3 separate regions of the Homo sapiens genome follow, and all the other regions are linked to region 3. Evidence: promoter capture Hi-C in human tissues and cell types (Jung and others, 2019). All regions are on one chromosome and are shown on one strand. Each heading gives the region's core, a stretch centred on a gene start or on the middle of the fragment in contact. The rest is flanking DNA. Distances are from core to core; before and after follow the strand shown.

Evidence for each region. The method cuts DNA at HindIII sites, captures the fragments that hold promoters and counts their contacts. A contact is called where the count stands out against the background at its distance.
Region 1: a contact is called between a fragment that was not itself captured here and the fragment with the promoter of MATN2 in region 3, in 1 of the 25 tissues and cell types used here (spleen).
Region 2: a contact is called between a fragment that was not itself captured here and the fragment with the promoter of MATN2 in region 3, in 1 of the 25 tissues and cell types used here (H1 embryonic stem cells).

Annotation. Positions count from the first base shown.
Region 1 is chr8:97,545,465-97,549,943 of GRCh38, reverse strand. No RefSeq gene overlaps it. Among named protein-coding and RNA genes, the nearest start is that of MTDH, 96 kb to the left of the region's middle. The HindIII fragment of the contact is 5,626 bases long and covers 1-4,479 here.
Region 2 is chr8:97,605,025-97,609,273 of GRCh38, reverse strand. No RefSeq gene overlaps it. Among named protein-coding and RNA genes, the nearest start is that of MTDH, 37 kb to the left of the region's middle. The HindIII fragment of the contact is 3,024 bases long and covers 536-3,559 here.
Region 3 is chr8:97,866,966-97,871,287 of GRCh38, reverse strand. MATN2 (matrilin 2) reads right to left here and starts at 2,224. Exons shown (of 19, transcript NM_002380.5): 1 at 2,001-2,224. RefSeq lists an enhancer at 2,624-3,123. The HindIII fragment of the contact is 19,586 bases long and covers 1-4,322 here.

The sequences.
Region 1 (4,479 bases), core at 627-3,126, 320 kb after region 3:
TAATACCAATGGATTCATTCAACATATATTTTTTGGGCGCCTACTATGTGCCAGGGACTTTTAAAGCAGTGAAGAGTTTTCTCTGAACAAAATGCCACCATGGAGCTTAAATTTCAATGGAACGATAATAAGCAGATAAAAATCTAAAACAACGTCAGATATTGGTAAATGCTACGATGGTGAGAGAGAGCGCCATCAAGAAAGGTTTCTGGGGTATGGGTGAGAGTACCCTTTATAGTTATGGGGGAGGTGGGTAGAGATCTATTTTCAGGAACAACATCAAGAGATCTGTTTTAGCTATGTTAAATTGGAGATGCCTATTAAACTACTGAACATCAGTTTCTCCTCATATCAGATTTATATCTATGTGCACGTGTGTGTGTGTGTGTATGTGTGTGTAAAATAATGTGAAGAAATGTGAATGAGTTAAAAGGGTTCTGGATGAGAAGCAGTCAGCCAGAAAGCTAGGACCCAATCATAGCAAAAAAAAAAAAAAAATTACCTTGACCAAATAGCTTAATCTTACTAGGTCTTCTTTTATCTTTAAAATAAGAAGATTCATCAAGATTATCTCTTCTTACGATTTTCAAATCCTGCGATTCTGGGTTTGGGACTTCCTATCCTATAACCCTAGATCCATAGAGTAGCTACCAAGCAATATGGTTGCCCTAAGAAATTCATCAATAACCTAAGCTTTTCATGAAGGCAAAGTTGTTTGGGAAGAAGAAATTGTTCTTTCTCTGACCCATTCATGCTCCATTCACAATAGATATGCTCATGACAGACCCATGATGAAAGGAGTTTTCCATTGCTGTGTGGACTAGTTCTTACATCATGGGTGGGCTGTGGTTGTTCTGTCCTCAAGGTGTTATACTGTGGGCCTGTTATGAGGGAAGCCACCTCTATTGCATGAGAGGAAGAGTTTAATCTTTCAATGGTGAAATTATGCATTTAGGTGAGCAATACCATCCCACCTCCACTGAGATACTTACCATATGGCCACGCACTGTATCTCTGAAATCCAGTGGGCTTGTCTCAGTTTTCACATTGCTTGACTGCTTTATGTCATGTGGCATTGCTGCTGAAACTCACAGAACTGTCCACCATAGCCTCCCGATCCAGACAACACCCATTCTCTGATTCCTTCCCTGAGTCCTGCTGCCCTGTGCCATTTACTGACTTTTCCTCTTTCCCCCTTCCCTTAAAAATATAAGAATCTCTTCATAAGGATCCATTCCTGGTGTTTTGTTTAGTTTCTTCCCTCTTTTTTCTGTATATACTTCCTGGGCCATATTATTTTCTGCCTTTGCTCCTCCCACCACTCAGATAGTATTCATTCCTAAGTTATCAGCCCTCTCTTAGTAGCTGCTTATTTAACAATTAGGCATCTCTGTTTGCGTGTCTTCGAGGCTCCTCCCCATGTCAGTTCCAAAATAGAACTAATGATCTGCTTTCTCCCTTCCCAAACTGGTCCCCCCACCTCCTTTCTGTATCTTGCTTAATCTGACCATTGAATCATTTAAGCTAGAAGTCTCAGAGTCAGTCAGCTTCTTTATTTCCATCTTGTTCATTGTGGTAGTCAGGCTTCAAGCTGGCCCTTCATGATCCTTACCTCCTATATTCACCTCTTTTTAGGGGCCCTTCCTACAGTGCATCATGTTTGGTCACTATGGCCAAAGAATATACAAGCAGTCGTGGTGTGTGACTTCTAAGGCTAGGCCATAAGAGAAATTGCCACTGTACCATATTCTCTTTTGGGTCACTCACTCTGGGTAAAGCCAGCTGCCACATCATGAGGACATTCAAGCAGCCTCATGGAAAGGTCCATATGATAAGAAACGGAAGCCTCTTGCTAACAGTTAGCATCAACTTCCCAGCTATAGAAGTGAACCATTTTGGAAGTGGATCCTCCAGCCCCAGTCAAACCTTCAGATGACTGCAGCCCTGGCCAAAATCTTGACTGCAACCTCATGAGAAATCCTGAGCCAGGACCACCAGCTAAGCTGTTCTTGAACTTTCTGACCCACAGAAACTGTGAGATAATGTCTTTTATCATTGTTTTAAGTCAATAAGTTTTGGGGTAATTTTTACATAGGAATAGGTGAAAAAAAATCTATATAGCACATTTTGATAATCACTATATTCTTTGATATTGCAATGTAATATTGTTGATATTGCAATGTAAATATTTCTTAAATATAACTCATTTTCTTCACTTCCACTGTTATTGCTCTTATTTTAGGCCTTTATTATCTCTTTCCTGGAGTATTGCAATATCTCTGTATTGGTTTTGTGCCTGTAATTAACTTCCTCTACTACTTCTAATCCATCCTCCATATTGTCTCAATTATCTTTTAAAAATATAAATCTCATCATGCTGGTCTCCTGCTCTATCAGTCAAGATAGCCTGCAGCTTTTATGCAGTAATAAGAAAGCCCCTGCAAATCAAAGTGGCTAAGACAACAAAGTCTTAATTCTTACTCCCATTACAAATCCACTGTCATTCAGCAGGAAGGCTCTGCTCACTGCAGTGCAGGGCAGGTGAGCCCTAACACTGGGGCTTAGCCCAGGACAGTTCTTGGCTTTGCTCAGGAAAGAATGCAAGAGCAAGCTGGTGGTAGAAGAAAACAGCTTTATTGAGGAGGTGGTGTTATAGCTTGGTCACTGCTCCTGCAGAGCAGGACTACCTCATAGGCAGTGTGCTGCGAGCAGCAACTCAGGGAAGTTCTGCAGTCATATTTATACCAACTTTTAATCATATGCAATTAAGCAGTGGGTTATTCAGAAATTTCTAGAGAAAGGGTGAAAACTTCCTGCTAGTTGCCATGGGAAGAGGTGGTAACTTCTGTGTATTGCCATGGCAATTGTAAACTGTCATGGTGCTGGTGGGCACATCTTATGGAGAGGTGCTTTCAGCGCCACTTCCATGTTTCAGTCAGTCTTTAATCTGGTCTGGAGTTGAGTCCTGCCTCCTACCTCAATTGTAATCACTCAGGAACCCAGGCGGACAGAAAAGCCACTATCTTTTTTTTTTTTCTAATTTTTTTATTATACTTTAAGTTTTAGGGTACGTGTGCACAACATGCAGGTTTGTTACATATGTATACATGTGCCATGTTGGTGTGCTGCACCCATTAACTCGTCATTTACATTAGGTATATCTCCTAATGCTATCCCTCCACCCTCCCCCCACCCGACAACAGTCTCCAGTGTGTGATGTTCCCCATCCTGTGTCCATGTGTTCTCATTGTTCAATTCCCACCTATGAGTGAGAACATGCGGTGTTTGGTTTTCTGTCCTTGCAATAGTTTGCTGAGAATGATGGTTTCCAGCTTCATCCATGTCCTTAAAAAGGACATGAACTCATCCTTTCTTATGGCTGCATAGTATTCCATGATGTATATGTGCCACATTTTCTTTTCTTTTCTTTTTTTTTTTTTTTGAGACGGAGCCTCGCTCTATCGCCCAGACTGGTGTGCAGTGGCCCGATCTTGGCTCACTGCAAACTTCGCCTCCCAGGTTCACGCCGTTCTCCTGTCTCAGCCTCCTGAGTAGCTGGGACTACTGGCGCCTGCCACCATGCTCGGCTAATTTTTTGTATTTTTAGTAGAGACGGGGTTTCACCGTGTTAGCCAGGATGGTCTTGATCTCCTGAACTTGTGATCCGCCCGCCTCGGCCTCCCAAAGTGCTGGGATTACAGGCGTGAGCCACCGCGCCCAGCCGTGCCACATTTTCTTAATCCAGTCTATCATTGATGGACATATGGGTTGGTTCCAAGTCTTTGCTATTGTGAATAGTGCCGCAATAAACATACATGTGCATGTGTCTTGATAGCAGCATGATTTATAATCCTTTGGGTATATACCCAGTAATGGGATGGCTGGGTCAAATGGTATTTCTAGTTCTAGATCCTTGAGGAATCGCCACACTGTCTTCCACAATGGTTGAACTAGTTTACAGTCCCATCAACAGTGTAAAAGTGTTCCTGTTTCTCCACATCCTCTCCAGCACCTGTTGTTCCCTGACTTTTTAATGATTGCCATTCTAACTGGTGTGAGATGGTATCTCATTGTGGTTTTGATTTGCATTTCTCTGATGGCCAGTGATGATGAGCATTTTTTCATGTGTCTGTTGGCTGCATAAATGTGTTCTTTTGAGAAGTGTCTGTTCATATCCTTCGCCCAATTGTTGATGGGGATGTTTGTTTTTTTCTTGTAAATTTGTTTGAGTTCTGAAAAGCCACTATCTTAAAATTGTTAGTCACTGGCTAGAAAAAAATAGAATGTGTCATGATTTCTTTTTTTTTTTTTTTTTTTTCTGAGATGGAGTTTCACTCTTGTTGCCCAGGCTGGAGTGTAATGGCATGATCTCAGCTCACTGCAACCTCTGCCTCATAGGTTCAAGCTATTCTCCTGCCTCAGCCTCCTGAGTAGCTGGGAATACAGGCATGCACCCCCACACCTGGCCAATTTTGTATT
Region 2 (4,249 bases), core at 798-3,297, 260 kb after region 3:
AATACAGTAGTTTGCCAAACTTACTGCTGTATTTGTTAAATGAATGAATATGCATATAATCTATATTGCTTGACCTATAGAAGGGAAGAGAGTTTCCCTTCTATGTAAGTGAATGATAAATAAGTGCTTTCAAAAACTGAAAACGAGGATGACAGCATCTACATTATCAGTAATCTGAGAGTGTGGTGGTGGGCTTGATTTGCAGTTATGTCTTTTCAACAACTGAGCACCTATTATTTCTCCGATTGCATACAAAATATTGACATATTCTCTTCAGTGGAAAAAATTGATAAAATAGGAAATCTATAACATTTTAGATTTTTCTAATTATAGTGATTGATTCTGCATTTTCTCTACTCTCTTTTTTTTTTTTTTTTTAACAGACAGAGTCTTATTCTGTTGCTCAGGCTGGAGTGCAGTAGTGTGATCAAAGCTCACTGTGATCTCAAACTCTTGGGCTCAAGTGATCCTGCTGCCTCAGCCTTCTGAGTAGCTAGGGCTACAGGTGTACACCACCACAGCCGGTTAATTTTTAAATTTTTTATAGAGACGGAGTCTGACTATGTTACCCAGGCTGGTCTCGAATTCCTGGCCTCAAGCAATCCTCCCGACTCAGCCTCCCAAAGTGCTGGGATTACAGGCATAAACCACCACGCCTGCCTCTACTCTTTCTTTTAATTTCTTACCTCTTATTACTACGTAAAAGCCTTTAGAATCAGTAAATTTGTGGTAAAACAACTCTGTTTGTATATGGTTCAAATTCATCTTGTTTCACCTGTGAATCTAGCAGAAAATTTTTAAAAATCATGTTTTTATGATCCAGTATTTTATCTCTGGTGTTTGAAGAATCCTTGTGAATATTTATCTCTGTTTCTAAGAAAAGAATAAAGAATTAGTCTGATCTCTTATGACATAAAAAGTGATCTCCTCCCACAACAGAATGTGTTGGGTAGATAACAGTTTTCAACCTCAAAGCTATATATTAAAGTCAGAGACTTAATGTCTCGGCCATTAGATGCAAGCAGAATAATGAAGATAGCTATCCTGAGTTATATTCGGGAGAAAAGATAATATTGGTCTTAATTAGACCAGGGATGAACTCCAGACCAATTTTTTAAAAACTTGGTAATAAGTTATTCTAAGCTTGATTCATTACGTTTCTGAAAAGTCTCCTTTATTTATTTATATTTTTCTTTTCTTTTCTTTTTTTTTTTTGGAGACAGGGTCTAACTGTGTCACCCTGGCTGAAGTGCAGTGGCCTGCATGGCTCACTCAGGCTAGACCTCTCAGGCTCAAGTCATCCTCCCACCTCGGCTTCCTGAGTAGCTGGGACTACAGGTGTGTGCCACCACACCTAGTTTTTGTATTTTTGTAGAGAGGAGATCTGCCTATATGCCTGGGCTGATCCAGAACTCTTGGGCTCAAGTAATCCTTCTGCCTTGGCCTCCCAAAGTGCTGGGATTACAGGCATGAGCCACGTTGCATGACCCTTTTAGTTTTTTTTTTTTTTTTTTAATAATTGAGACAAGGTCTTGCTATGTTGCCCAGGCTGGTCTCCAATTCATGGGCTTAAGCAATCCTCCTGCCTCGGCCTTCCAAAATGCTGGGATTACAGGTGTGAGCCACGGTGGCTGGCCAAAAGTCCCCTTTAATATCTTGATCAGACAAGTTAATTTATTTGGAGTCGTGGATGATTTGAAGTTGATGTCACTACTCCAGCCTTATATAGTAGCTCCGCAGGTACTGCAGAAATGAACAAACAGTTCAGTGCTGGTGTCAGCCTGACCAGTGTGTGGTGGACACTTCCCTTTCTCCCAGATGGTCTTACAGGCAGGCCAGCTGGGCCACTGCCAGAAGCTTCTGATTGCTATTGGAAATGGACCAAACTTCATACATCAGGGGAAGTAAGAGGCAAGCTGTTCTCCATTGTTCAAATTTTTCCATTCAAACTCATATTCCCTTGAGGACCATATGTCTTTTTGCCTGTCTCCAAGTATATTGCCTGCTTTTTCATTCCTTGAAAGGCTCAGTAATACTTTTTTTGGTAAAGTGTTGAAATAGGCTTTTTACTATGAATAGAAGTAGTGATACATTTTCCTTGGCATGGCTTGGACATGCTATTGTTTTCCCAATTATTTTTGTTATGTATTTTGGAGAGTTTTTTTTAATTTTTATTGTTTTGAGACAGAGTTTCGCTCTGTCCACTGCCCAGGCTGGAGTGCAGTGGCGCGATCTTGGCTCACTGCAACCTCTACCTCCCGGCCTCAAGCAATTCTCCTGTGTCAGCCTCCCGAGTAGCTGGGATTAAGGCATGCACCACCATGCCCGGCTAATATTTTTTGTATTTTTAGTAAAAATAGGGTTTCACCATGTTGGTCAGGCTGGTCACGAACTCCTGACCTCAGGTGATCTGCCCGCCTCGGCCTCCCAAAGTGCTGGGATTACAGGCGTGAGCCACCATGCCCAGCCAAAGTTTTTGAATGGCTGAAACCCAGATGCCAGCTGTCCCCAAGGACACCTTCTGTTCTCATTTCATGCAAACCTAGACACATGGCTTGGCATCATTATGCAGTCTCCAGAAAACCCACTTATGAGACAATGGTTACTTAGTATGTGGATTTGAGTCTTTTGCTACATGATCTTTGATACATTAATTAACCTCTCCAAGCCTCAGTTTCCTTACCTCTAAAATGGAGATTATGGTAATAGTACCTACCTCACAGTAGGTACTACTGTGTTGTGAAGATAAAAAAATGATGATTTATGTTAATTGTTCAATAAATTGTAGCTGTTTTTTAATCTGCAATATAGATTTTTAAAAATTAAGGGAAGTTTCTAATGTATATAAAAGTAAAGAGAAAAGTACAATAAACTGCCATGTACTGGTCTTCCAGCTTCAATGATTATTAGTTCATGAACCATCTTATTTCATCTTATTTCTCACTCTTTACCCATTTGAAGCAAATTTCAGATTTCATATAATTTTACTCATAAATATTTCAGTATATATATATATATATATATATAAAATTTATTTTTTTGAGATGGAGTCTCACTCTGTCACCCAGGCTGGAGTGCAATGGCGCCGCTCTTGGCTCACTGCAACCTCTGCCTCCTGCCTCAGCCTCCTGAGTAGCTGAGATTACAGGTGCCTGCCACCATGCCTGGCTAATTTTTGTACTTTTAGTAGAGACAGGGTTTCACTATGTTGGTCAGGCTGGTCTCGAACTCCTGACCACAAGCAATCCACCCGCCTCGGCCTCCCAAAGTGCTGGGATTACAAGCGTGAGCCACTGCGCCCAGCCCTAGTATATGTTTTTGAGAGATAAAAAAGCCTCATGTTGTAAAATAACCATAATGCCATTATCACATATTAACATTAATAAAAATTCCTAAAGGCCACCACCGTGGCTCACACCTGTAATCCCAGCACTTTGGGAGGCCACTGTGGACAGATTGCTTGAGCTCAGGAGTTTGACACCAGCCTGGGCAACATGATGAAACCCTGTCTCTAACAAAAATACAAAAAAAATTAGCCGGGAGTGGTGATGCGCACCTCTGTTCCCAGCTACTCGGGAGGCTGAGTTGGGAGGATCACTTGAGTCTGGGATGTGGAGGTTGCAGTAAGCCGAGGTCTCGCCATTGCACTTTGGCCTGGGCGACAGAGACAGACCCTGTCTCAAGAAAAAAAATTAAAATCTTTTTTTTTTTTCCAAGGCAGAAGAGTTTTTCTTAGTACAGAACAAAATGGAGTCTCCCATGTCTACTTCTTTCTACACAGACACAGTAACAATCTGATCTCTCTTTCTTTTCCCCACATTTCCCTCTTTTCTATTCGACAAAACCGCCATCGTCATCATGGCCCGTTCTCAATGAGCTGTTGGGTACACCTCCCAGACGGGGTGGCGGCCGGGCAGAGAGGCTCCTCACTTCCCAGATGGGGCGGCCGGGCAGAGGCGCCCCCCACCTCCCAGACGGGGCGGCTGGTGGGGAGGGGGCTGCCTCCCACCTCCCTCCCGGACGGGGCAGCTGGCCGGGCGGGGGCTGCCCCCTACCTTCTGGACCGGGTGGCTGCCGGGTGGAGACGCTCCTCACTTCCCAGACGGGGCGGCTGCTGGGCAGAGACGCTCCTCACCTCCCAGACGGGGTGGCGGTCGGGCAGAGACACTCCTCAGTTCCCAGAGGGGGTCGCGGCCGGGCAGAGGCGCTTCTCACATCTCAGACGATGGGCGGTCGGGCAGAGACGCTC
Region 3 (4,322 bases), core at 975-3,474:
TAGGTGCCAGTCAGAACTGTTTCTAAATAAACTGTAGAATTATTTTTCCAGAACCTCCAATGGCTCTCTTATTTCAAAGAGCAAACATCTCTCCTTTTCTTTAAATCTCAGGCCACACTTTTAACTACCTTTTGCTAAACAAGGACATATGGCACTCGCTGATAAGAGCTTAGGGCATGACAGCTGCTCGAGGGTGTTTCAGATTTGGACTCTGCTCTGACACCTCCAACAAGCAAGCTTAGGCCTTGGTGGCCCTGGGTTGCCTGGGAACAAGAAACCCCAGAGCCCCGATTTATAGAAGACAGTGTCCTGGTAACTCGGGGGCCTGAGATTGAATTCTATTGGCAGAAATAAAAGTAAAAAGTGTGGACAGATAGGAAAATGCAAGGTGAAGAGCCATAAGTATCTCATTCTCCACAGAGGATTCTAAGTGCCAAGTTTCAGGGACTGAGAGGAAACATTCCAGGTCATAAACCCATGTTGGTATTTTGACATGGTTTTATGAGGTTGGCCCTTTGGGAGCAAGCAGGGAGAACTGCGCCCGTGTGGACTCCTGCATGGAACTACCAGTTGCATACACGTGGCTTATCTGCCACCCTCACGTACCCATGGAGAGCCTCTCTTTCTGAACTGGGGAAGAGGTACATTCACTGCTCATAGCAGCTCCTTGCTATTTCTGCAAAGACAAGCCATGGAACTCACCTAATCTTAGAATGCTCCTGGAAATGTTCTAAGGACTTTACTTGCCATATCTTTTTTTTTTTCTTTTGAGACGGAGTTTAGCTCTTGTTGCCCAGGCTGGAGTGCAATGGCACCATCTCCGCTCACTGCAATCTCTGCCTCCTGGGTTCAACCGATTCTCCTGCCTCAACCTCCCGAGTAGCTGGGATTACAGGCATGCGCCACCAAGTCCGGCTAATTTTGTATTTTTAGTAGAGACGGGGTTTCTCCATGTTGGTCAGGCTGGTCTCGAACTCCCGACCTCAGGTGATCCGCCCGCCCCGGCTTCCCAAAGTGCTGGGATGACAGCCCTGAGCCACCGTGCCCGGCCGCCATATCTCATTTAATCCTCACAGTTCTGTGGGTATTACCATCCTCATTAGACAGATGAGGAAACTGAGGCATACTTGGGTACCTTCAAGTTATCAACCCTGTAAACTTCACAGCTGGGGTTGAAACCCAAGCAGGCTGACCCCAGTCTCTGCTCTCGACCACGGGTCCCTGAAGTCTCTTGACTGCCCCATTCCTTAAAGGCCGATTTTAAGTGTGCTTGGTGCAGATGCATTGTGGCTTCCTGATTTATGACAAATTGAAACTTGGTCAATTGGGTTTGTTCAGGGTGGGCGCGAGTGTCCCTGAGGAGAGCACTTTCCTGTGCCCCCAGTCCTGGAGACCCTACCAGGGACAGTCCCCATTTCTCTGTCCTCTCCCCAAACGGCTCCAAATTGTTCTGGGGTTTCTAGCAACTACCACAAAATGCCTTCCCCTTTCTCTCCCTCTTCCACAATATAGGGAAGCTGGAGGTTTAGCTGCCATAGAGACCCAAGAACAAAATCCAGATGACACGGGCATGAAAATACCAGGTTCCGAAGAGGGAAGGGGGAGCCATCGGCTGTCCGTGGAATAGGAATCACCCTGCATACCCGCTCAACAGGTCTCCCTTTCCCTGGGTCGCGGTGGCCGGGGTCTGGGCGTCCCCGCTGCGTGCCACAGCGCCCCCACGGGGCACTCCGGGGCGGCTGCAGCGCGGCTTGTCCTGCGCAGGGAGCGCGCCCAGCTCTCCCGGCCGAGGGGTCGGGCAGCGCCGCCCTCCCTCTCCCCCTGTCCTCGGAGGGGTCGAAGGCGCCGGGGCCCCGGGGCGCTGGGGGCTGCAGTGCGGGCCTGGGGAGGGCGCCTGCGCGTCGGGCAGCCCAGGCTCGGTATTCTGTCGGTGGGTCGGTCCGCCTGCACTTCGAGGCCGCCCGGCCGCGCAGAGCCGGGGGAAAGCGCGCCGCGCTCACCTGCAGCCGCCGGCGCCTGGGAAGCGAGGCAGGGGCGCAGCCACCCGGGTCTTCCTCGTCGGCCTCTTCGCCTCGCCGAGGGCCGCGGCTCTCCTCGGGGATCGCTCGTGGGAGGCGAGGACGGAGCCCCAGCTTCTGCCTCTGCCTCTGTCTCCGCCGCCGCCGCTTGCTCCAAGTCCCATCCCAGAGCGCTCCCTTCGCTCGCTGGCTGCCTGGGAGGCGCTGGGCAAGGGCGGGCGGCTGGGGAGGCGGTGCCGCGGCGGGGGTGGGGAGCGGGCCGGGCGGAAGGAGGGGTGTCCTCTTTGGGGATGGGGAAGGCGCGGAGAGGGAGCGGCGGCGAGGGCGGCCCCACCCTGTGGGCAGCCCCGGGAGCTGGGCACTCTGGCGGCGCGCCCTGCCTGCTGCCACCTGGCTCCACTCCGTCCGTGCCTGAGCCCAGGCGGGCATCAGACTCCAGGGGTCCGGAGCCGCAGGCACGGAACACAGGCAGCTTTAGGGGCCTGTCGGGTTGGGAGTGCGGGGAGGGGTCTTCTGGGGGAAAGGAGACATGGCAGGAATCTTACATCTAGAACTTGGGGTCATGACCTGCGGGACGCACCCACTGACGCGGGGATGGAGAAAAAAGTGGTGAGAATTGGGCTAATTGATGACAAGCGCCAAGAGCTGTCTTGCCAGTGCCCAGAGCACCCCACCAGTGCCAGTTCATATTAACAGAGCGTCCACTGGCTGGGGACCAGGCCCCGGGATGGGGAGGAGGTAAAGATGCCAGGATGGAGAGGAGACAAAATTCCTACCCCGAGGGAGCAGGGAAAGTCTAGTTCAGACAAGACTTTTGAAATTATGAGCAGAGACATTTGCAACTTTGCAGAATGGAGGAACCTCACCTTGGATGTCCCCATGGAGCCTTGGAGGGATGCAGAAGACAGGATTGGCCAGCGACAGTCAAAGTGGCCGGCACCCCCCTCTACCAGCTCCCCAGTTCCTGGAGGCTGGGGTGAGTGGATGTATAACAGACCAGGACATCTCCTATAAAGCTCCAAAATTCTGTTCCCAAACCACTAGCCAACGCACCCAGTTCAGGTTTTGTGTTTTTGTTTGTTTGTTTGTTTTTTGAGACGGAGTCGCCCAGGCTGGAGTGCAGTGGCGCAATCTTGGCTTACTGCAAGCTCTGCCTCCCGGATTCACGCCATTCTCCTGCCTCAGAGTAGCTGGGACTACAGGCTCCCGCCACCACGGCCGGCTAATTTTTTTTGTATTTTCAGTAGAGACGGGGTTTCACCGTGTTAGCCAGGATGGTGTCGATCTCCTGACCTCGTGATCCGCCCGCCTCGGCCTCCCAAAGTGCTGGGATTACAGGCGTGAGCCACTGCGCCCGGCCCCAGTTCAGGTTTTAACAAGCTACCAGCAGAGGCAGCAGCACTAACTAGTTTCAAAACCTCTGGATGTGCCACAGTCTGATAATTTGGTGCTTTGGGCGGACTTTGTTTTGTAATTAACCATCATTCCTATTTGATGATAGAGTTGATTTCTGAAATATGAATAAACGCCAAAATCAATTCTTCAGAAAAGCTCCAGGAGGGGTAATTAAAATTCCAGCCATGAAGCAAGGGGTTAACATACTCGAGCCATCAGGCAAGTCAATGATACCTTAATACCAAGAAAGAATTGTGGATTCCTGTTCCTTTACCCAGTACCTTAGGCCCACTGGGCACTCTTGGCTGCCTGCACTGATCACAAATAGTTTTTTTGTTATGTCTTTGGGAGGAGGTAGGTGGAGGTCAGAAAGCAGAGGAAAGTCTTCAGGAAATGTTTGGTCTCTGAAGTCTTGGATCCCATAGAAGAAAATTCTTCCTGAGTCTGGGCCAGTGAAAATCCCCTAGGAACTTGGGAAGTTGAGCTACAGTTTATGGAAACTTAAATTTAAAATGTGTTGACTTATTCCAAGACACCAGTGTGATCCAGTAATTTACCAGGAAAACAATAACAATCCCCAAACCCTTCCAAATTGTAAGGAAATTGTAATTTAGTAACTGATTCCAGTGACTCTGGTGTATGCCAATTAAAATGGGTGTTTTCCCCCCAGGGAGTTCTATTGGAATTCTTCAGAATAGTTAATCTATGTACAAATTACACTTGGGGCCAAGTCAAATAGGTTAAATGAGTTGTTCTACCTTGTGGGATGATCTTCAGGTCTGCCAGAAAAAAATGAAGGAAAAGCAAGTTCAATGTCCTGAAATATAAAGGCAGAACAAACAATGAAATGATTTCTGGGTTACCTTCAGGATGAATTGCAAGTTGATAATTAAGACTATAGATTAGGAA